Regions from separate parts of the Homo sapiens genome. Here regions 1, 2, 3, 4, 6 and 7 are each linked to region 5. Evidence: promoter capture Hi-C in 16 types of primary human blood cells and fetal thymus (Javierre and others, 2016). All regions are on one chromosome and are shown on one strand. The core of a region is centred on a gene start or on the middle of the fragment in contact, and the rest is flanking DNA. Distances in the headings are between cores, read along the strand shown.

Region 1 (3,088 bases), core at 375-2,874, 2.3 Mb before region 5:
CCGTGGGTCGAATCACACCCTTGTCAACAGGCACCATGTCAGGCCTAGCCATCCAGACAGCAATGGACGAAGCCTTCACAGTGGAGGCAGGGGCTCGAGAGCCCTCTTCTAACATCCCTAAGGTGGCCATCATTGTTACAGATGGGAGGCCCCAGGACCAGGTGAATGAGGTGGCGGCTCGGGCCCAAGCATCTGGTATTGAGCTCTATGCTGTGGGCGTGGACCGGGCAGACATGGCGTCCCTCAAGATGATGGCCAGTGAGCCCCTAGAGGAGCATGTTTTCTACGTGGAGACCTATGGGGTCATTGAGAAACTTTCCTCTAGATTCCAGGAAACCTTCTGTGGTAAGTTGGTCAGTCTTTGCTTCCAACTAGAAAGGATGTTATATTCAGACATTGTGTACCCAGAGAAAAGAGTATTATTCTTTTTTGGTGGAAATTTAATGAAAAACTTAAATATATCCAATGCGTGTGTGTGTGTGCACGTGTGCATGCGCGCGTGTGTGCGACCAACCTAAACACACTCTATTGGTTTAGGAATATAGAGCTGCATTATATGGAACTTGGTTTGCTCATAAAATCTTCATGTTTGCGTTAGAACTGTGAAGGTCTGCAAATATCCAGGATAAATGACCCTGCTGTTCCCTGTCAGGGTCAGGAAAAACAAAACTCAAGATGCCTCTCCTGTCCCCTCTGCCCCACCACTACATTTTTTTCCCCTGATACATATTTTTTTAGTTTTACCATCTCTAGATCTAACAGAACTCTGTTTGTTCTCCTGCAGAAGACAGGGAGAAGCGTCTGTCCTTGGGAGAGTCAGCAGGCCTCTATTCCAATGTCACCGTCAGCCCGAGTGTGCATTTAGTGAATGCTCTGGTTTTCAGACTGGGCTGTTTATCTGATTACTCTTTGTTGAAGAACAGGATTCAGGGACCAGGCAGATTAGGGTTTCAGCTCACTTGAAAGAAAGCAAGATGATCTTAAGAAATCATTCTGTTAACTCTGCTACTCCTTCCATCCTTTAGGATGGAATTTGAATAAGGACATGCTAATTTTATTGGAATTTTTAGCATGAATTGACCAAATCTAGGACTACAGATCCATTCAATGCTGGAGTTTAATTTTAGTCACTGATCAGAATTATGATCTGTGGGACTCATGCTTTATTTTTTTATCATCTGGAGATAATCTTTTGTTCCCTCTATGTGAATATCCAAGCAGTTGTGGACAAATTTCTAGTTCAGGTGAATTTTTAAACATAGATATCTTTTTGCAATATAATTTATTTCACACTTATTTATTCAGCATGCATTTATTGATCTCTGATGATACAAAGATAAAGGTAATCCCTCCATACCATTAAGTAACATTCTGGGGGTGGGGGTGAGACAAACAAATGAACCAATAATTAATTACAATTATACATTTCAAGGAGACTTTTAATCTAGGTTAATGTGAAACGCAGCCATCAATGGTTTGTCAGGAAAAGGGAGATGAAGTCTTGCTCTGGGGCAACGTTTGGCCTCATTGCAGTCAGACTTGGCTGGGATCCCCTTGTCTTTCCTGTCCCAGGACACTGGGCTTTCACAAGCCATCACTGGCTTTGGTGGCATCTACTTGGCATTCGTTGGCTTCCAAAAAGAAAGTGGCTTTCTTTCTCCCAGGAAATCACCCTCCCACTCCATGCTTGTGGGTGAGAGCCTCTCCATCAACATGCTGGTCTGTGGCAAAGTTGGGTTTCAAAGCTAGCACCTGGGGTTGGGCTTCGAAGGCTATAAAGTAACAAGTGGTGAGTGGCAATCTTTTCCTTCTGGTACAAAAGACCTGCTTGTTCTGGGGGAAAAACGTCCTCTCTATGGAAAAAAGACTGAGCGGCAGCTTGTTGTAGTCAACGGGTTGGAAAGATCATTCCATGAAAAGGCCCTTCTTGGGAAAATATTAGCCTTGTCCTGTTGCCAAGGGCAGTGGAGGTTGGGTTACCTGCCACAGGAGGGCCAGCCTCCTTCAACAGGCCTCCTTGGTTTCTCAGAAATGACTTAATTCATTGATTCATCTTTCAAAAGAGGTCACTAGGAAAAAAATATCCAATGAGATATAAATGGCTCCAGGAGCAATAAGATGGAGATGTAGTTTAGCTAATGTAATCTCATTTATTTTGTTCTTTTCTTTTTACCTGTTTGTATTAGCATATGAGTTCACTATGGATTTAGCGTATGGATGACTTCACCCACCTTACATATTCAGAAGACAGTTACCCGAACTGTCCTCTACCATTTGCATGTTCAAATATGTACCACTGCCCACCTGTGAGTTCGTTCTAGGCTTAGACCCAGACTTGTGTGAGAATTCTGTTTAGACATAGGCTATAGAACCTTGGAAATCAGATTCTGGCTACAATGGGACAACTAGCTCACGTCACTTCAGGCTGTGCATTTATTGTTCTCCCATTTCTTGTGGTGGGGAAGCACAAATCTTTTTTTCATGGGGAGGCGGATAAGCCAAATAAAACATCCAATTGCCTGGCCTATGTAAGTGTTTGGCTTCAGCTCCAAACTCCAAATTCCCTTTCTCCCTTGAGAAAGTCTATATAGCAAGATGTGTACTTTTAAATTAGCAACAATTTCTAGTTTAAGAGTAGCATTGCTAATAAGCCAGAGGCAGAAAACAAATAACCATTTTTTTATAGTGAAGTAAAGATGGACTCGGAAAGGAGCCCAGAGAGCAATGTCTATTGACATGGGAGACGGTATCTGAGATGTTTCCTAAGTGTCAGTGCTGACTGTTGTAAACTTCCTCTCACAGCGCTGGACCCCTGTGTGCTTGGAACACACCAGTGCCAGCACGTCTGCATCAGTGATGGGGAAGGCAAGCACCACTGTGAGTGTAGCCAAGGATACACCTTGAATGCCGACAAGAAAACGTGTTCAGGTGAGGCCTGTGTAGGGGGCCGTGACTGAATCAAATACTTGGGAACCTATGCTCCAGGTTTTGGACTGGCCTTGTGCTTTGACTCTCTGACCCCTTTTTACCTAACTGCCTTTTGGCTGGTTTACTGGTGTTCATCAGCAGTTTTCCCTGAAAAGGAGCT
Region 2 (3,306 bases), core at 336-2,835, 2.3 Mb before region 5:
TAAACTAAGGAAGTTTTGTGCCTCTGCCTTTGCATATGCTATTCCTTCTCCCTGAAATGTTGCTGTCCTCCCAAGTCACTTTCTAAAAATTTTATTAAGGAAATTTTCATACATACAAAAGTAGTGAAGTAGTACGAAAACCTCCCATTTATTCATCACCCAGCTTCAACCATTAACAACATTTTGCCAAGTCCAGATAATTTAATGGTTAGCTCACATGTTTTCGTGGTAAAACTTTCCTTTTTTTTTTTTTTTGAGACGGAGTCTCGCTCTGTCGCCCAGGCCGGACTGCGGACCGCAGTGGCGCAATCTCGGCTCACTGCAAGCTCCGCTTCCCGGGTTCACGCCATTCTCCTGCCTCAGCCTCCCGAGTAGCTGGGACTACAGGCGCCCGCCACCGCGCCCGGCTAATTTTTTGTATTTTTAGTAGAGACGGGGTTTCACCTTGTTAGCCAGGATGGTCTCGATCTCCTGACCTCATGATCCACCCGCCTCGGCCTCCCAAAGTGCTGGGATTACAGGCGTGAGCCACCGCGCCCGGCCTTTTTTTTTTTTTTTCTTTTTTGAGACAGAGTCTTGCTCTGTCACCAGGCTGGAGTGCAGTGGTGCGATCTCGGCTCACTGCAACCTCCGCCTCCCAGGTTCAAGCGATTCCTCTGCCCCAGCCTCCCAAATAGCTGGGACTACAGGCACCCGCCACCATGTCGGGCTAATTTTTTGTATTTTAGTAGAGACGGGGTTTCACCGTGTTGGCCGGGATTGTCTCGATCTCCTGACCTCATGATCTGCCTGCCTTGGCCTCCCAAAGTGCTGGGATTACAGGCGTGAGCTACCATGCCCAGCCAAGCTTTCTTTACTTCCTAGCCAGGGGGATCTGTTTTTCTCACGGTGCACCTGCAAAAGTTTCTGGATCCTTCTTGTATGTACTTATTAAATAGTACTCAGTACACATTGGTAGGATTGTCCTTTTCTCTTATTTTTCTCTCTACAGCAAGATGTTCTCCTGGAGGGAAGAGGGTGATGTCTTTATAAGGGCAGTGGCTCACGCCTGTAATCCCAGCATTTTGGGAGGCCAAGGCAGGTGGATTGCCCAGGAGTTCGAGACCAGCCTGAGCAACATGACGAAACCCCCTCTCTACCAAAAAAAAATATATATTATATTATATATATATTTATATATTATATTATATATATATTTATATAATATATATTTATATATAGATATATAATATATAAATATATATAAAACATATAAAAATATATATACACACACACATACATACATATATATATTAGCGGGGCATGGTGTGGTGGTGCATGCCTGTAGTCCCAGCTACAGGGGAGGCTGAAGTGGGAGGATCACTTGAGCCGGGGAGGCAGAGGTTGCAGTGAGCCTAGATCGCAGTAACTACTCTCCATCCTGGGTGACAGAATGAGACCCTGTCTCAAAATAAAATGTGTGTGATGGCTAACTTATTAATTAAAACATTTGAGGTGTTCATTACACATTTGTTGAATGAATGTCTCCTCCAAAAAATATTGTGAATACTCAGTTGTATCTGCATGTAACAGTAAACAACAACAAAAAACTTTTTTTTTTTAAATTATACTGTAAGTTCTAGGGTACATGTCCACAGCGTGCAGGTTTGTTGCATAGGTATACATGTGCCATGTTGGTTTGCTGCACCCATCAACTCATCATTTACATTAGTTATTTCTCCTAATGCTATCCCTCCCCCAGCCCGCCACCCGCTGACAGGCCCTGGTGTAGGTGTGTGATGTTCCCCACCCTGTGTCCAAGTGTTCTCATTGTTCAGTTCCCACCTATGAGTGAGAACATGCGGTGTTTGGTTTTCTGTCCTTGTAATAGTTTGCTGAGAATGATGGTTTCCAGCTTCATCCATGTCCCTGCAAAGGACATGAACTAATCCTTTTTTATGGCTAAAAAACGTTTTAAAGATAGTCAATTTTGATCTTTATCAGATAACAGGCTTTGCTTAGTTCTGTAGATTGACCCTCCTGTGGGTGCTTTCTCTGCATGGGAAGCCCTTATCTGGATGCCTCCTTAAACCAGACACACTGTTTTAATTATTATCTCAGTAGATACTGGCTCTGGGCAAATTACTGTGGGAAAACTGAAAAATGATTTTTTTTTTAAAGTCTCCAGAGAATCTTCTGGAATAGGTGTGGCAGTGAAAGAAGAAAACAAAGAATTCCTCTCTTCAGGCCCTGTGCTTCCATGGATCTGATACAGTTATTTTGTAACAAGTCAAATCTAACAGATTTCTTATTGTACACACTTACATAAGATGTAGAAGCTTTCAAAAACAATGCACACCACCTGATTTGACTGATTAAATTTACAGTACTGTTAACACATTGAGTGGTGAATCCGCAGCCCATGCTGCTAAAATATTGCTGCATTCTATACCTCTCCATATTGCCAAGTTTAGAAGTTAATAATTTAATCTTTTTTTTTTTTTTTTAAAGAGATGGGGTCTTGCTATGTTGCCTGTGCTGGTGTGCAATGGCATGATTATAGCACACTGCAGCCTTGAACTGGGCTCAAACAATCCTCCCACCTCAGGCACCTGACCAGCTGGGACTACAGGCACACACCACTGTCCCCAGCTTAATCATTCTTTTTAAATTACATTTTTATTAACTTTCTTTCCTGAATACAGTGAAAGGAAAAAGTGAATCAGGAATAAATATTTGTAATAGTTAGTACATAGTTGGATATTTTCAGAGAAATTTTGTATTGTAAGATTACAGTTAATTTTATGTATTTTTTGAAAAGCTAAACATGTAATTTAGAAATATCAACTTTAATCAGAGATAAGTTGCCAGGGCTTACATGTGAGCACAAGGTAGGCGTTCGTTGGTGAATATCTTTAAGATCAAAGGATGCCAGGAGCGGTGGCTCGTGCCTGTCATCCTAGCACTTTAGGAGGCCAATGCAGTAGGATCACTTGAGGCCAGGAGTTCAAGACCAGACTGGACAACATAGTGAGACTCCATCTCTACAAAAAAAATTTTTTTAAGTCACAAGGATGGGTTTTCCAGTGTAATACTTTAAGATGTAAGTTGGGGTTCTAATGAAATGATGTGATCTAATGGAATATAATTAACTCAAAGAAGATTTGGAAAAAGCTTTTAATGAAGTAGCATTGAAATTTATTTCACTGTTTCTTGGTCCTTCTGATTGGCCCTACGATTTATTTTGTTTAATATTTAGTGGTATGACCCACAGTGAAATTAAACTTGAAGTGTCTCTAGTACTAAAAGAAGATAATAGTGGATGAG
Region 3 (3,457 bases), core at 279-2,778, 2.2 Mb after region 5:
GTATGTATGTGTTGCAGTGCCCTCAGTAATGCAAATTGGGATATGTGAATTGGGGTATGATTGGCTCCTCTCCTTGGCAGGTAGAATAACACCAGGCAGAGAAACAGCAGCCAGGCCCTTCACCAAACCAAAAGATAGAGGATGGGTGCCTTTCAGTCTGGTATTTTGCTGGTCTAGTCTCCCCAAGAATAGGTTGATTTAATGGTTGCCTACTAACTGGGAGATTCCTAGAAACCCTGGCCTGGTCCCAGAAACCAGGACAGACACCACCAGGTGGCACCAAACTGTAGCCAAACTGAGAAGAGATTGGACTGGACCCTAAAAACTCCCAGCGTAGGCTTTTGTTCATCTGTCTCCATTTATACAAATGGACGTGCGACATTTAAGGCGGGTGATGGAAGTCTTCAACAACTGGATTGTGGTGCTGGTTGCACAGCTCTGTGAATCATTGAATTGTACATTAGTGAATTTTATGGTATTTAAATTATACCTTAATAAAGCTGTTTAAAAAATTATAATTAAAAAACACATATGGCTGAGCGTGGTGTCTCATGCCTGTAATCCCAGCACTTTGGGAGACCGAGGTGGGTGGATTACCTGAGGTCAGGAGTTCAAGACCAGCCTGGCCAACATGGTGAAACCCTGTCTCTACTAAAAATACAAAAAATTAGCCGTGCTTGGTGGCGGGCGCCTGTAATCCCAGCTACTTGGGAGGCTGAGGCAGGAGAATCACTTGAACCCAGGAGGCGGAGGTTGAAGTGAGCCGAGATCATGCCACTGCACTCCAGCCTAGGCGACAGAGCAAGACTCTGTCTCAAACACACACACACACACCCCTCAGCCTGGGCTTGCCCCCAGTATTTTTTTTTTAACCTCAGAATAACCCCACATTTTCTGTAATTGGGTAGTTTGGGCCCCACTAATCATGTGATAGGGAAGTTTTACTATGTTATCCATGGGCCCAAGATATTATGCTATGTATTTTCAAGTAAGCTATATTATAATTATATCCCACTGTAGAGCAAATGGTTTTGCAACTACTAAGGCAGACCTGAAAAAAAATGCCTTCAGGTATCTGGGAAAGTGTAGAGAGGATGGGTCCTGGGAAGGCCTCTGTAGATGGACCACCCAAAAGCCATACACAGTTCCTAGGTTAGCTCATTTGTGCTGCTATAGCAAAATACCTGAGAATGGCTAATTTATAAGGAACAGAAATTATTTCTGCCAGTTCTGGAGGTTGGGAAGTCCAAGATTAAGGTGCCAGTAAGTTTATAGTCTGGTGAGGGTTTGGTTTCTGCTTTTAAGGTGGTGCCTTGAACACCATGTCCTCCAGCAGGGAGGAGCTCTATGTCCTTACATGGCAGGAGGTACAAGGGCAAGAGACCAAATGCTCCATGAAACTTCTTTTACAAGGGCTTCAATCCCATTCATGAGAGCAGAACCTTCATGGGCCAATCACCTCTTAAAGGCCCCCCTCTTAAAATTACATTGGCAATGTGAAGTTTGGAGGGAACATTCAAACAATAGTAGTCCCCTTTCCCATTGCCTTTCTTTATTATAGAAATCTGAAAAAGGCTGGACGTAGTGGCTTATGCCTTTAATTCCACCACTTTCGGAGGCCAAGGTGGGAGTATGACTTAAGCCCAAGAGTTTGAGACCATCCTGGGCAACATAGAGTCCCTTTCTCTAACAAAACTTTAAAAAATTAACCAAGCATGGTGGCACGCACCTGCAGTCCACCTATTTGGGAAGCTGGCCGGGGGAGGATCTTTTTTTTTTTTTTGAGATGGAGTCTCACTCTGTCATCCAGGCTAGAGTACAGTAGAGTACAGCAGCGTGATCTCGGCTCACTGCAAGCTCCGCCTCCTGGGTTCACGCCATTCTCCTGCCTCAGCCTCCTGAGTAGCTGGGACTACAGGCGTCCGCCACCATGCCGGGCTAATTTTTTTGTATTTTTAGTAGAGACGGGATTTCACCGTGTTAGCCAGGATGGTCTTGATCTCCTGATGTCATGATGAAGGATCATTTTTGAGCCCAAGAGGTCGAGGATGCAGTGAGCCGTGATCACACCACTGCACTCTAGTCTGGGTGACACAGCCACACTCTTCTCAAAAAGAAAAAAAAAATGGAAACTTGGAAGAAGAAGAAAACAATCACCTTTCCAGATTCCTTTGTAGAGAGACAGCCCAGAGACTCAGCTCTGCCTGGAGAGATATAACTGGCAGTGCCAGGTTGGGACTTCCAGGAATGCTTTTCAAAAGGGAAAGATCTGTCTGGCATGCACCGTTTTTCCTTTGGAACATTGATATGATGCCTGGAAAGTCAGCAATGAGTCCCGAAGATAAAAGCCGCACACTAAGACTACTGAAGCAGAAATAAAAGGCTGGATCCTTAATGATGGTAAGCCCAGGTCTGTCTACCTCTAGACCTCTCTTGCAGCTTGAGAATGTCCCAGTTAAGCCACTTTAAAATTTCTTTTTTCTGCAGCCCAACACTTTGCTAAGAGGTACAGAAAAGAAAGGAAATAAAACACACATCATTATGGATATTGTGTAATGTATCTTTCAGGAACATTTTTTGAATGTTTCATAATACAGCAATAATCAAGCTATTCTGGCTAAAAGGCGGAGGAGACATTTGGCCTGAGTTGTGAGGGAAACATCCAAAATTATCCCTGAATATATGGCCATTTCCTCACAATGAAAATGAAGGTGAAATGTGACATATACAGTAGAGGATGTGACTCTGAACCCAGCCTAGGGAACACAAGTCAAATTAGGTTGTTTAGTTTGTCCTTTCATTGACATCCACCCTCCTCCTCAGTTCCTATTCCCAGGTCCTTCTGGAACAAGATAAAGCCAGCTGCTTAGTTTCTGAGGATCTCACCACCAAGAAGGAGGAAGCAGCTAGAGAGAGAATTTGTTTTAATCTAAAAGAAGTTGAGTAGAAAATACAATATCGTCATCCATAAACCCCCTCCCTCACAAAGTCCTTCCTCACAATATAGAATACAAACCTACCCATCATTTCACACAAGTAACAGTAACCTTCCCCCTCCATAAATGCTGTCCGTGTAGGTTGCCCCAGATCTACCTGTTAGGAGGGAAAAAACGACTCAGGAGTACTTGCACTGGATCTTGAATCTTGCTATGGTCAGTCTTTCCATTAACAAACTCTCTCCCCTTCAACACAGCTCTTAGTTGGTAAGGCTCCTGAATCCACCCTCCATAGGATGGTCCTCCATGTCCAGCCTCCTGCTTACTTCCAGCCTTATTACCTGCCACTCTCCACAAATTTTACTTTCTAGCATATCAAACTGTGTAGAAATCCTTGCATATGCCACATTGCCTGTCACCACTGTAGTTTTTAAAATGCTGTTCCCTCTCCCTAGAATGGCTTTCCCTTTTTAGTTTTGGCTATCTGTTGCTGTGAACAACTACACCAAAACTTAGAGGCA
Region 4 (3,250 bases), core at 583-3,082, 2.2 Mb before region 5:
GGAAAAGACCTGAAGGGTATACAGCTATCCCATGTAACATGGTCTGCGGACAGTAAAGTCTTACTTTTTGGAATGGCAAATGGGGAAATACACATTTACGATAATCAAGGAAATTTTATGGTAAGTAAGTGTATGCATCAGTCTTGTTTATACAATTTTATATGATTATCGTACATATCATTCATGTTTGTATATACATTTATTTTTTATGGCGGTTTGTGTAATTAAAGTCTTCAATTCAGATTTTTTTTCTTTTTCCCAATCGTCTAAATTTTGTTTTAATTAAATAAAATTTTGGTTTTCTCAAGGCAAATTAGTGCAACAAGTTCGAGTGTAGCTTTTAGTTCCAATTTTTTTTGGTAGGTAGAAAGGACGAGGTGTCAGTGCATTTAAGCAGAGAGATAATGAGTAGGGCGATGTGCAGTTTAAGTTTTATAGGTGTCTTCTGGTGTCTGAAGCCAAAGTTTACATGTAGATACCACAGGGTATTTTTGTAGCAAGCTACCAATGGTTGTTTGTAAAAAGAATGACAGACTTAAATGGTAAGTGAGAAAAATCAATCCCTGGAAAGAAGGTAAAATAGAATAGGATCAGGCAGCATAATCTGGAGAAAAATTCTGGCTTTGCAAGGTTTAGCTATCATAGATGTATGATTACTGGTGGGGCAGTTTTGTTTTTTAGCAAGGGTTAGGACATTAAGTAAATCCACTCACTGGTGGAAGTAAAATAATGAACTTTTATGTCATTTTGCTGTTTTCAAAGTACTTTTATATACTTGTTGTTTGAGTCTCATAAAAACTCAGTGTTTTTTAATCCTCATTTTTTACATGTGGGGAAAATGGACATTTAGGTGATTTGTCCATGGCCTGTATACCAGTAAGTGATTAAGCTTTAATTTGCCACCTGATTTTTAGACTGTATTTTTCAGTGTTCTTTCTACAATACTCTATTGAGTATTGTCTCTATACTGCTGTGTTTTAAAATGTAAAATATTAAACCTAACCAATTTTATTTAGATAAAAATGAAACTGAGTTGTTTGGTGAATGTCACTGGAGCTATCAGCATTGCTGGAATTCATTGGTACCATGGCACAGAAGGCTACGTGGAGCCTGATTGCCCTTGCCTTGCTGTTTGCTTTGATAATGGAAGATGCCAAATAATGAGACATGAGAATGACCAAAGTAAGGAATTTTTCTGTTTAAAAAATTTTTTTAATTTCTATTTTTTTTTTTTTCTTTTTGAGATGGAGTCTCACTCTGTCGCCCAGGCTGGAGTGCAGTGGCACGATCTTGGCTCACGGCAACTTCTGCCTCCCGGGTTCAAGCGAATTTCCTGCCTCAGCCTCCCGAGTAGCTGGGACTACAGGGCGTGCCACTATGCCTGGCTAATTTTTTATATTTTTCGTAGAGACGGGGTTTCACCCTGTTAGCCAGGATAGTCTCTATCTCCTGACCTCGTGATCCACCTGCCTCAGCCTCCCAAAGTGCTGGGATTACAGGCGTGAGCCACTGTGCCCGGCCTCAATTTCTAATTTTTAACTTTTTTTTTTTTGCGACAGGGTCTTGCTCTGTTGCCGAGGCTGGAGTGCAGTGGTGCGTTCTTGGCTCACTGCAGCCTTGGCCTCCCAGGCTCAAGGTCTCAGCCTCCTGAGGAGCTGGGACCACAGGTGTGCACCAACTCCTCCAGCTAATTTTTGTATTTTTCGTAGAGACAGGGTTTCACCATGTTGCCCAGGCCGATCTTGAACTCCTGGACTCAAGTGATCCGCCCGCCTCAGCCTCCTAAAGTGTTGGGATTATAGGCGTGAGCCGTTGTACCCAGCCCTGTTTTTTTAAAAATGTGGAAAGTTTTAAAAATGTTTAAAAGTTGTTCTTAAGATTATAAAGTTCTCTAGGCTACGTATTTTCCCACAGTGACCTCATTTTTCTCTTTCTGACTAGATCCCGTTTTGATTGACACTGGCATGTACGTAGTAGGCATCCAGTGGAACCACATGGGCAGCGTGTTAGCTGTGGCAGGCTTCCAGAAGGCAGCCATGCAGGACAAAGATGTGAACATTGTGCAGTTTTACACTCCGTTTGGTGAGGTAAATGCATTCAAATTGATCTTCTTTCTTTCTATTTAAATGTGCAGTGAGTAAGGTAGAGGAAAAAATAACAAAGGAAACGGTGTAAACTTATCACATTTTCTTTTAGGGACATTTCATCTTCATAGTATAAATCTTTGTTGTATTTTATCATGGAATTTTATAATCTTATAGTTTTATAATTATAAAATAAAAATTACAATTTTATACATTCAGAAAACCAGAAGTTTAACATAAGAAATCACCATGGAGTAGTTATTTTGAATATTTTCTCTGTGATCTGAATATGTGTCTCTTTTCATAGCCAGCTTTTGAGTAGTATTTAGTATAATATAGTTGTTTCAGATTAATTTTTCTGATTTTTAATGTGATATTTTAAATGTGTTTAGATGTTAAACATACATATCTGTCTGTCCTTCCTTCAAACTTCTAATACTTTTAATTTGTTGCAAAGTAATCAGTTATTTGAAGAAAATTTAATAATTAATCTTAGGTGATGCTACATTAAAATAAAAGCATTGTTTTCATAAATGTACATATGAGTATTATCCTTCTCAATAGTATTTTTAATAAATTTAATTTTAAAAGAATTTTCAGAAGTAGCATTGGAAAATGTCAAGTAGGAGAATTAATATATTGTGAATTTTAAAGAATTTAGAAAGTGAGAGCTTATTAATAACTAAGCTTAATACGTTTTTTGAATGTCTTATTTTCTAACCCAGTACTATATTTTGTCCCTTTTGAATACCCTGTTGGCTTTTATAAATTCGCCATAGACTACAGTGATATATATTTTTGGCTGCATAAAAGCCTATACCAGTTGTTTTAATGTTATTTTTATATATTTTAATAATTTCTTTTAGGGCAAGAAATGATGTCTTCTGATGCTTTTGAATCAGTATCTCAAAGTTACCCAGTAGAATATACTGTAGAACGTAGATGCTCTCTATACATTGTCAAACGACAATATTTCTCGTAGATGTAAAAGTGAAGGAAAAAAAAAAGCATAGTTTTCAAGGTTCCTAAATAATTAAAAATCTGCATTCTAATTATTTCTATATTTATAGCCTCCTTCTTAATTCTTGTTCTTTATTGGTTATTTTTGTTGGTTGCCATTTACTTATTTATCATAATGTTTTATCTGCTTATTTTTGTTAGTTCAG
Region 5 (3,446 bases), core at 433-2,932:
CTAAACGTTGAGGCATACTTCACGTTTATCAATAAATACTTATTAAATGTCTACTATTTAACAGGAAAGCTTTATAGGTGCTGGAGATACAATAATGGAAGATCAAGCCCTGCATTTAAAGACCTTAGTAGGGTAAGTGAGACTGCAGATAAAAAGGGCTTAAGAGGTAAGAAAGCAAGCTATAGTTGTATTTAGGAAAAAAGGTCCCCCACTTAGGAATCAAGGAACGGTTCCTGAAGCAAGTGACATGTAAGTAGGGACCTCCCAACCGTGTTTCCCATTGGTTACAACAAGGCCAGATGTTTTGGTCTATTTTGACTATGTCATATTTTTCGTTGATCCATGGCAAGGGCCACAGTAGGAATATAATATATATGTGATTACTTTTAGAAATAAAAAGTGACTTTGATGTAAAGAATTCCATTACCGGAGGCCAGAATTTCAACATCAATTTATTTGGAGGTGGAGTGAGGTGGCAGTCAATGCATTATTTTCCCCACACAGAAGAGAAGATTTTGGAGTATGAAAAGTAGGTTACTTGTTAGGTCAGCATATTCATGGGAAGGGTTGTGTAAAGACTGAAGCGGGAGTGTGGGGTTGAGAAGGGCGCTGAAACCTAAGCCAAGGAAGTTAAGACTTCATTACTTCTGACGTTTATTTAGGGGGTTTACACTCTAGGTTACCGTGGGGGAAAGACTGATTGTAAATAACTACAATACCTTAAAGTAATTACTATAACAGAACTATATCCGAAATACAAGGTTAACACGGAAAAGGGAACACCCAACTGTGCCTATGGGGACCAGGGAGGGCTCTCCCGGGATGGCTTTGAGCGAGGCGTGGGAATTATCCCCATCGCATGCCCGGGGGAAGCACAGCGGGACCCAGCAGCTTCGGCCAAGCGCAAGCGGCCGGAGAACGCGCAGCTTTCCCGAGGCGGGGTGACGCAGGGCCCTCGCGAGTGGAAAACAGGGGCCAAGTCGCGGCCTGGCGGCTCGGTTCGGACTTCCTACTTTATTCAAAGGGAGTCATTGAAGGCGTTTTCGGAGGAGCAGCGAACAAAGAGCTCGTCCGTAAGCCAGATGGTCAAAGGAATCAGTGGGAGGACCCGGGCGGCGCCGTCTCTCCACGTCCCGCGGGACTTACCCGGACAACCCTTCCTCCTTGGCTCTGGAAGAAGCCCCTTCGTCATTTACCAGTTTGGCCTGAATCCTAACTACTGTGCCTCCAAATTTCTGAATTTTCTCAAAAGGAAAAAAAAAAAGGAAAGTCCTCTTTCTTTACCCAAGCAAAGACTAGCTCCCCGGGCTCAACCGCCAGGCCCAGGAGCACCAGGAAGCGTTTCGAATCCAGCGCCGGGCCCGCGCGGCCCCGCCTCTTCCGGGAAGTGACTGACCCCTTTCCCCCAATGGGGCCCGCTCGGCTTTCCCTTGCCGGCTCCCAGCCGGCCTAGCGGACGCATGCGTAGACCAGCTGCCGGGGGCGCTCAATTATCTTTCCCTTTTACTTAGGCAAATCACTCACCTCCCCCGAGTCCGGTCACTGCGGAGCCGCCCGTGCCTACCAGCTTCCCCCACCCGCTAAGGGGCACTTCCGGCCTCTCAGACTCCGGCGGCGCGAAACCCCGCAACTGCGCAGGCGCGGGCGGAGCCCGAAGGGAGGGAGGGCGGGGCGCAGGCGCGGTTAGTACCGCGGTGGGCGCCGGGGCTCCCGGGAATCTACCTTCTCCTGCGGCCGGCACGCGGTTCCCAGGGGGCCAGCGGCGGTCAGCCGAGGTCGAGACGCCCGCAGGGTGGCCTTAGCGGCCGGTCGTACCACGGCAGCCCCGCCGATCAGGTTCCTTTGGGAGACTTCGACTTGTTGGCGGTAGGGTGAAGGCGCGCGCTGTCGCTTTCCCTTGCTCCGGGGTTCATCCTCCGCCCGCTGCCCCCTTGGCTGGCGACCCCCAGCCACCCGGGAGAGGCAGGGTCAGCTGAGCTGCGGCGGTGTTCATGGTCGTCCTTGCGGGCCCGGGCGGGAGATGTCCGTTCCTCGGGCGGGTCGGGCGGCCGGCGGCACCTTCGCGCGCTCTCCGAGGCGGCACCGGTCTCCTGAGCCGCGGGAAACCTGGCGTCTGCTCCGGGCCGTCCCCTCCCAGGCGGCCGTCCCCTCCCAGGCGGCCGTCCCCAGACTCTCCCGGGCTGTGGCGAATAACTGTAAAGCGGGGAGAGGTCTGGGGAAAGCTGGGGTAGGGAGTGGCTCTTAGCATGAGTCTGATGATATCTCGCAGGCGGCAACTGGTGTGTTTAAAGGGTGTATGCAAAGATCACTGAAATCGGATTTGTCATTAAAGCCCAGTTTTACGAAAATGCAAATTGTATTACCTAGAAAAATTAACATGTGTTCAAAGGTTTACTGATGGCATTTCTCTGCCCTCATTTCTTACAGAAATGAACCGGAGAAGAATCCCAATTGGGAATTGCGGAAAACAGGACTCTAGGGTAGAGAAAGGTTGTAGAACCAATAGGGTTTGAGGTAATACTGTGAAAATTCTTAGAGCAATCATTTGGTGTTTGAGCCCTCAAGACAGAAGTTTTGTGAGCGCTTATTACTCTGCATATGTCACGAGTAGTAGATTAAAAGCCAGTGTTTTAAAGGCAAACTTCTCAGTAATATATATTCAAAGGAAAAAAGAAAAACCCAAATCTCCTGACTTTTATATGGTTGCAGTGTGATCTTTTAACATGTACAATAGTATATACAGTGGCATGCAGTTTGTTCCATGGGTGTGTGGGTAGAGAGGGAACATATTAGAACTTCTATTTAGATTTATTTCATTTGATTTCTACGTGAAACATAGGGTATTAATTTTATGTTGGAACATGTATTTCAAATTTCTTTTGCTTAATGGGTGCAAGTACAAAACGTTTGGAGGCCACTAGTATATTGCCTAAAAGCGTGTATTTATATCACAAAAAGCCAGAATTGTGTGACTCTGAGCAGGTTGGTACCACCTCTTTAAGTTTCAGTTCTTCTTATGCAAGTTGGAAGAAATAATACAGTTATCAGTGCATCCTCTGTATCCGTGGACTCAATCAAGGGACTGAAAATATTTCAGAGGAAAAAAAGTGGATGGTTGCACAGACTTTTTTTTGTTCTTGTCATTATTCCCTAAACAGTACAGTATAACAACTATTCACATAGCATTTGCATTGTGTTAGGTTATATAAGTAATCTAGAGATAACTTTTAAGTATGTGGGGAGGTTATATGCAAATATGACACCATTTCATATAAGGGACTTGAGCATCTGTGGATTTTGGTATCTGAGTGAGAGAGAGGGGCTGTCATTTTGGAACCAATTCTTAGGGATTGACTGTACCTAGCTGACAGGATTCTTAAATATGTGGACACAGAGAGGAAGAGAAAGTTATGTAGTTATATATCGACATCTGTCTGCAATCCGTA
Region 6 (3,199 bases), core at 246-2,745, 2.2 Mb after region 5:
TGAAGGTAGTAGGGGGAGCAGGAAATGAGGTGTGAGATTTAGGGGAGCAGGCAGATGACGTAGGGCTTTGAGGTCATTAAACTTTGAGAGAAATGGGAGCTGGTTAGAGGCTTCCCAGCAGAGGCTTTTAATTGCATCACCGCCTAATGCATCTTGATGGATATCATGAATATAATTATCTCAAGGGATATTCAGTATTTGTGTTTCTTTTGATGTGAAACAGTGTAATACTTTGTACAGTATATATTCATTCATGTTACAGTAGGCTCTGCTTATAACTGTCCACAAAGAGGTATTTGTTGAATGAATGAATGAATGAACAAATGGGGTTGACCTTTTCGCTCCCTCCATGCGGGTTCTCAACCTATTATTTCAACTTTATTGCCCCTACACCCTTTCTCAACTTGGGTTCTATTCACCCGTCTTGTTGAGTACTAATTAGGAAAAAAAAAAAGGCAGGCTAGTGGGAGCAGGGAAAAACAAAGAGATAAGGCAAATTAGCTATACGTCTGTCTTTCTTCATGGTCCAAAACATATAAACAAAAGGAAGAAACAAATAAGCCATAGGTCTACTTTTCTTTATGGCCCAGGACATATGGCCCTTCTACCCAGATAACGTACTTAACTCACAAACTTCCTGCTTACCTTCAAATGCCTCAATTTCTGAAACACTTCAGCTGACAAAAAAAAAAAAAAAAAAAGAAAGAAAGAAAAAAAAAAAGCAAGTTAACTCCCTGCTACCTGGTGTTATCAATCACTCCAAGTTCCAGTCTATAAAATTCTCAACAAGCCTTTGTTTCCTAGCAATGAGCTCCTCCTCTGCTGAGTCGGCCCGCTGCTCCCTGGCAACGAACTTTCATACTTTCTTTAATCTGTCTTTCTTTATCTACCACTGTCTTGGTAAATTCTTTTACTCCCACACTGAGAAAGTCGTCACTCACTGGCGACACGTTGAAAGAGTTCTTTCAACTCTGTATTTCTGCCTCTGTCTCTGCTCATTCCATTTCCCGCTACTTGAAATGCTTCTCCAGTAGATTAAAATTCTGCCTATTGTTAAAGACGCAGGGACAAGCTCCACGTCCTCCAGGAAATCCCTGCAGACTCTGGCCTTCGTTGCCTTTTCTGAGCTCCTGTAGCATCCTTCCTCTGCTACCTTTCATTGGATAACTTTAGTTGTTTATTTTAAAACCACTGTTTGAACTCTCTCTACGTGTTAGGCAAAGAATATACAAATGAACATTAGCATTTCAGTGGGGTACCTTTACCATTTCTGTTTTATGGAAACTGAGTTATAAGAGAGGCTCAATGACTTGGCCGATCTCATGTAGATTAATGAACAAGGAGTGTATCAGGACCGGGACACAAGTCGTTCCCAAGACAAGCAATAGTCCCTGTCCTTCCTACTCATAAAAGGGTTAACCTAGCATTTCCTTGCCGTGAAACAAAAGCGGCCGCGGATAGAGAAGCTTGTCCTGTGAGGGATTCCGTAGAGACACTCCTCCGCTGCCTGAGTCCTCGGCGAACATGGCGGCCCCCGAGTCAGGGCCGGCTTTGAGTCCAGGCACTGCAGAGGGTGAGGAGGAGACGATTCTCTATGACTTGTTGGTCAACACCGAGTGGCCACCGGAGACTGAAGTACAGGTGAACCAGGCCCATCTACAGCAGCAGCCAGCTTGGCGCGGGCGCTTCGTGGGTAGAGCCACGTAGCAGGAGCCACGTAGGGGAGTGGAGACGGGTGGGTGGGGGACTAGGGCCGGTTGGCTTGTGCGGTCGCCTTGGCAACGGCACCTTGGGCTAGCGGGGGTCTAGGGCGGGGTGGGGTGGTGGTCCCTGAGATTCTTCCTGGGCTCAGAATTCGGTTGTTGGGGGCTGGAACTTCGTGCTCTGGGGAGCGTACGATCCCACTTTGGTTCTCAGTTTCGCTCTCTGTATTGGGAGGAGAGGGGATTGTTAGTGTCGCTCTCTGTATTAGGAGGGGAAGGCACAGCGCTGGACTCGAGGGTCCTTTCTCCTATCTGGACCCTCAGTGGTCCCTTCTCGCGGTCTGGCTAGGGCTAGTCTGGGCCGACGCTCAACTGCGATGGGAGAATTTTCCAGGACCTTACAGTCTGCAGCATCTGCCAGGCTGGTGCAGAGCGCAGAATCTGAGCCTTTACCCATACTGGGGGCTGGATCGCGCCAGGTCTTGTGTGTTTCAATAAAAGAGCATTTAATAAGGGTGTGCGTGTCCGTTCGTCTGTCTCGGTGTCACAGGTGCTGTGCTAGGTGCTAAGGATACAGAGATGAATATGTTTTCGTGGAGCTTCTCGTCTAGAGGGGAGACAGTCCCGTAAACGTTTTTCATAACCTAGCGTTTTATGCGCTATAGTTAGCGATGTGAGCAAAATGCCACGGAAGTGCAGAGTAAAGAGCTGCTGACTGGGATTGGGATCTCCGCTACAGAAGGGTTATAGAGGTTGATAATTTATGGACTGGATCTTGGGATTATCAGTTGTTTGGTAGTGAAGGCCTCCCGGGTCTGTGATGAAGAGTAGGAACCATGGATCCATGTTTATTTTATTTTATTTTTTATTATTATTATTTTTTGGATCCATGTTTATTTAACAGATATTTATTGAGTGCTTAACACGTGCCAGTTACTGTTTTAGACCCAGAGGAAGCAGCCAGATCGAAAAGAACCTTTATTAAAGATTATGTAGTCCAGCCCATGTGAGTTATCTTACATTTTTTCTGAGTGTTTCTTTGCTGGAGAAACGACTCATTTTTCAGCCCAAAGTTTGTATTTTTTTCCTCTGTAGCCTCCTTCCCACTGCAGTTTGTGCTTATCATGAATAATTTATTTTGTAGACGGGTAGAGATCTGCATATATTACTGTTTAATTTCAAGTACTTAGTTTGTCTTAATGTGAATATTTTTTGGGTTATGCAGCTAGGAAGCTGTTGCTGAGGCAGCTGGTTAGATAAGTTTCCACTCCTTAACACTCATTGGTTAATTGCAGTAATGTTTCAGAATGCTTACCATAAATTGATTCCAAAAAAGTAACCACAGAATTAACTTACTTTGAAACCCTTAGCACTTTGTTTTGTGTTTGTGTGTTGGGGGTGGGGGAGTTCAATTGATTTCTGCATTCTATCGATTTCTGCATTCTGTTGATTTCAGCTGTTGAATTATAAGCTCTTGGAGGGCAGACATCTGATTC
Region 7 (3,093 bases), core at 460-2,959, 2.2 Mb before region 5:
ATTTTAGAAATCACTTATGTATCTGTGTTTCTAAAGATTTGTAGTTTTCTTCTTGCTGGCTCTAAAGGTTTATTTTTCAGTTTATTCCTAGTTTTGTTGTCATTAATGAGGTTGTAAATTTTTTTTCTAATTGGTTATTAGTTATATATAAAAATTATTTTTATGTTTATTTTATAACTGACCTTCATTTAGTTTTAACTAATATGTGACATAAATTATACACTGTTTAAAATAGCTGTATCATATTCAATTTATACACCATTTCTAGACTTAAAAGAACAATTAGATCTTTAACTTGAGATGCTTCACCTACTAGGTGAAGATCTCTATATGCCTCATTTTTTTTTTTTTTGTCAGTGGTAAGACGATCTGAAACAATGTATGACCTGTAAATTATTACCCTTGAACCTATCATGCTTTGGATATGAAATTAGAGGATATTGTTTATTGTAACTGAGTGATTACATTTTATATACATTTTTTCTACTACACTTTGTTGTAAATACTTGACCCCAGAACCAGTTTATAGGATTCTGATTGTAAAACACATGAATATATTGTTTAAACTGGTTTTATGAAGTTTTTGATATACTATAACAAAGTATTTTTAAGATTCCAAGGTCTAGAGAAGAAAAAGATACAAATTGGTTATAAATCTAATATTAAATCTTAATATTAAATCTAATATTAAGTCTGCTTTTTTTATTATACTTTAAGTTCTGGGGTACATGTACAGAACGTGCAGGCTTGTTACATAGGTATACATGTGCCATGGTGGTTTGCTGCACCCATCAACCGTCATCTACATTAGGTATTTCTCCTAATGCTATCCCTCCCCTAGCCCCCCACCCCCAACAGGCCCAAGAATACAGTGCATTTTAAAGAAAGATTTTTTCATCTCCAGTATAATTGCAAATAAGATGTTGTAACTTGAATTGTCTCAACTGACAACTTGGAGACTCATTTTCACTTTTTCACAAAATCCTATTGTTTCAGTGAGACAAATGACAAAAGCAGTAATACAAAAGCAATAATCTGTCCAAAGAAACACAGAGAAAAGAACATATTATTTTATACTGTTTTGCTTATATTGTTTTGCTTTTTTTTTAACAAAAGGAAACATGGTATTATCTTGCAGTTTATGACTAACATAGTATAATACTCATTTGCTTTTTATGAAGTGCCACAGAAATTTCTAACATAAATTGAAGAAAATGTGGATGTTTTGACACCAAAATTTTGTGTGTGTGTGTGTATTTCTGAGCTGGCACAGCCATGTGCAGCATTTGGTGGTGGTTCTTTTCATAGGATGAGCTGTTAGCCAGCTTCACAGAACCTTGGATATCATGTAGCCTAGTTCCTCCTCTTGGTGCTCCCATCTCTCAACACTGTTTGCTTTCAGTTCGTTCATGCAAGTTCAATGAAATCACCTTAACTTAGATTCTTCTTTTGCATGTTCATGATATCATAATAATTATTTTAAAAAACCCCAATTGCCCTGTTTTTCTTAGCTCTTCACCTGAAAGACTATGAAGACATCATCCCTCCTGTGGAGATCTACTCTCTGCTAGCACTCTGCGCATGCGCCAGCAGAGCCTTTGGGACTTGTTCAAAAGCTTTCATTAAACTTAAATCTTTAGAGACCCTCAGTTCAGAACAGAAACAGCAGTATGAAGACCTTGCTTTAGAAATCTTCACCAAACATACTTCAAAAGATAACAGAAAACCTGAATTGGACAGCCTTATGGAAGGGTAGGCTAATTTTAATTAGTGGATGCCATTCTATCTTATTAGAAGCTTGGATTTCTAGATGTACAATGTTTAATGTAGGAATTAAAGCACTGAATTTTGAAGCAATTCACATTAACATTATACCCTATTTTATTTATTTTTACAAGTGTATTCATGCTTTATTTTGTCATTGTAAGAAAGGTTTTTTCTTGAAATAACTTTTTTAAATGAAAGTATTTGATGTTCATCTCAGAAGTTTTATTCTTTAGGTTTTTTTTAAGTGTATTAAATAAAGTTAGACTAATGAGAAGTTTTAAAGTATAATGAATTGTTTCTCCCCGTTTTACAGTGGAGAAGGGAAACTGCCAACATGCGTTGCCACAGGAAGCCCAATCACTGAGTATCAATTCTGGATGTGCAGTGTATGCAAACACGGTGTCCTTGCTCAGGAAATAAGCCACTACAGCTTCTGCCCCTTATGCCATAGTCCAGTGGGATAAAGGAATGATAAACTGTATATAACTGTAAAATATATGTAGCATATATACATGGCTATATGCTGTATATGTAATAAGGTTTATTTCTGTGAGTTTTGTATGAAAATCAGCCTCATTATTTATAGTTGAATTTTTGCACAAAATATATGTTAATAAAATAATTTTTATGGCAATACAACTGTGAAATAATAAGGCCGATTTTCATATAAATGTATGAAAATCAACCATGTTTTCTCTCACCCTCTCTCTTTTGTTTATCTTGTTTTTGGTTACATGATACCATGGAAATATTCCAAATAAATTTTTTTCTCACAGTGTCAAGGTAACTGAATTCATTAAAAAATCTTGAAGGGAGTAGGGAGTGGGGGAAGCATGGGAGTGGGGCAAAGTTGAATTTAGAGAATTTTTATAACCCATGTTACAAGGAAGTTAAACAATTGTAATAATGAAATGAGCTTTCTCTATAGCCATATTTAATTAAATAAGTGTCGAATGTCTTCTTTATTGTATTTTCAGAAGTGAGGCGATGGCATTTTAAGACATTTTTTACAATCTGAATTGTTTCTAATAGCCCTATTCTTCTATTTTAAAACCTGTCCTTTTAGTCTCATTTAAGAGATGGCATTTGGAATTTACACTTTCATATGATTGTGCAGAAAACTTGCCTCTATTTATAATGAAGATAACTTAAACAGAAATATCCATTTTGTAGTTATAGCTTCTGTTGAAACATTGTCACTAAGTTGGACCGTTTATTTACACAAGTATTGTTGAGGGAGTGATTTTTTCTTGATATGCGTCTGTTTTCATTTATTATTAATTTGAAAGATAAACAGTTGTGATCCATAATGGATCATTTCTTATG

The links. Contacts are between HindIII fragments. The CHiCAGO score rates a contact against its expected background, and 5 or more counts as called.
Region 1: a fragment that was not itself captured here is called in contact with the fragment with the promoter of SMC6 in region 5 in 2 of 17 cell types (neutrophils and activated CD4 T cells); the score reaches 8.1 in neutrophils.
Region 2: a fragment that was not itself captured here is called in contact with the fragment with the promoter of SMC6 in region 5 in 2 of 17 cell types (neutrophils and total CD8 T cells); the score reaches 12.3 in neutrophils.
Region 3: a contact is called between a fragment that was not itself captured here and the fragment with the promoter of SMC6 in region 5, in 5 of 17 cell types (total B cells, naive CD8 T cells, non-activated CD4 T cells and 2 more). The highest score is 14.6, in total B cells.
Region 4: a contact is called between a fragment that was not itself captured here and the fragment with the promoter of SMC6 in region 5, in 5 of 17 cell types (neutrophils, activated CD4 T cells, total CD4 T cells and 2 more). The highest score is 7.6, in neutrophils.
Region 6: a contact is called between the fragment with the promoter of NBAS here and the fragment with the promoter of SMC6 in region 5, in 4 of 17 cell types (naive CD8 T cells, monocytes, M2 macrophages and 1 more). The highest score is 11.2, in naive CD8 T cells.
Region 7: a contact is called between a fragment that was not itself captured here and the fragment with the promoter of SMC6 in region 5, in 6 of 17 cell types (naive CD8 T cells, total CD8 T cells, activated CD4 T cells and 3 more). The highest score is 10.3, in naive CD8 T cells.

Annotation. Positions count from the first base shown.
Region 1 is chr2:20,003,001-20,006,088 of GRCh38, reverse strand. It overlaps MATN3 (matrilin 3), which reads left to right. Exons shown (of 8, transcript NM_002381.5): 2 at 1-345; 3 at 2,803-2,928. It overlaps WDR35-DT (WDR35 divergent transcript), which reads right to left. Exons shown (of 3, transcript NR_110235.1): 3 at 1,283-2,069. Among named protein-coding and RNA genes, the nearest start is that of MATN3, 8.1 kb to the left of the region's middle. The HindIII fragment of the contact is 4,251 bases long and covers 1-3,088 here.
Region 2 is chr2:20,044,646-20,047,951 of GRCh38, reverse strand. All of the region lies in intron 1 of LAPTM4A (lysosomal protein transmembrane 4 alpha), which reads left to right. Among named protein-coding and RNA genes, the nearest start is that of LAPTM4A, 5.3 kb to the left of the region's middle. The HindIII fragment of the contact is 1,471 bases long and covers 850-2,320 here.
Region 3 is chr2:15,585,340-15,588,796 of GRCh38, reverse strand. It overlaps LOC124905975 (a long non-coding RNA gene), which reads left to right. Exons shown (of 2, transcript XR_007086224.1): 2 at 1-528. Among named protein-coding and RNA genes, the nearest start is that of DDX1, 4.8 kb to the left of the region's middle. The HindIII fragment of the contact is 6,453 bases long and covers 1-3,457 here.
Region 4 is chr2:19,972,400-19,975,649 of GRCh38, reverse strand. WDR35 (WD repeat domain 35) reads left to right here. Exons shown (of 27, transcript NM_020779.4): 6 at 1-120; 7 at 1,017-1,182; 8 at 1,942-2,087. Among named protein-coding and RNA genes, the nearest start is that of WDR35, 16 kb to the left of the region's middle. The HindIII fragment of the contact is 1,882 bases long and covers 892-2,773 here.
Region 5 is chr2:17,752,046-17,755,491 of GRCh38, reverse strand. It overlaps SMC6 (structural maintenance of chromosomes 6), which reads left to right and starts at 1,682. Exons shown (of 28, transcript NM_001142286.2): 1 at 1,682-1,866; 2 at 2,428-2,514. It overlaps GEN1 (GEN1 Holliday junction 5' flap endonuclease), which reads right to left and starts at 1,354. Exons shown (of 14, transcript NM_001130009.3): 1 at 1,147-1,354. RefSeq lists silencers at 1,567-1,706, 1,847-2,206. The HindIII fragment of the contact is 9,742 bases long and covers 72-3,446 here.
Region 6 is chr2:15,559,630-15,562,828 of GRCh38, reverse strand. NBAS (NBAS subunit of NRZ tethering complex) reads left to right here and starts at 1,495. Exons shown (of 52, transcript NM_015909.4): 1 at 1,495-1,641. The coding sequence starts at 1,525. LOC105373440 (a long non-coding RNA gene) reads right to left here and starts at 681. Exons shown (of 4, transcript XR_001739297.2): 1 at 646-681. RefSeq lists an enhancer at 1,296-1,705. The HindIII fragment of the contact is 4,253 bases long and covers 1,469-3,199 here.
Region 7 is chr2:19,912,696-19,915,788 of GRCh38, reverse strand. WDR35 (WD repeat domain 35) reads left to right here. Exons shown (of 27, transcript NM_020779.4): 26 at 1,512-1,752; 27 at 2,081-3,093. The coding sequence ends at 2,231. Among named protein-coding and RNA genes, the nearest start is that of TTC32, 12 kb to the right of the region's middle. The HindIII fragment of the contact is 181 bases long and covers 1,619-1,799 here.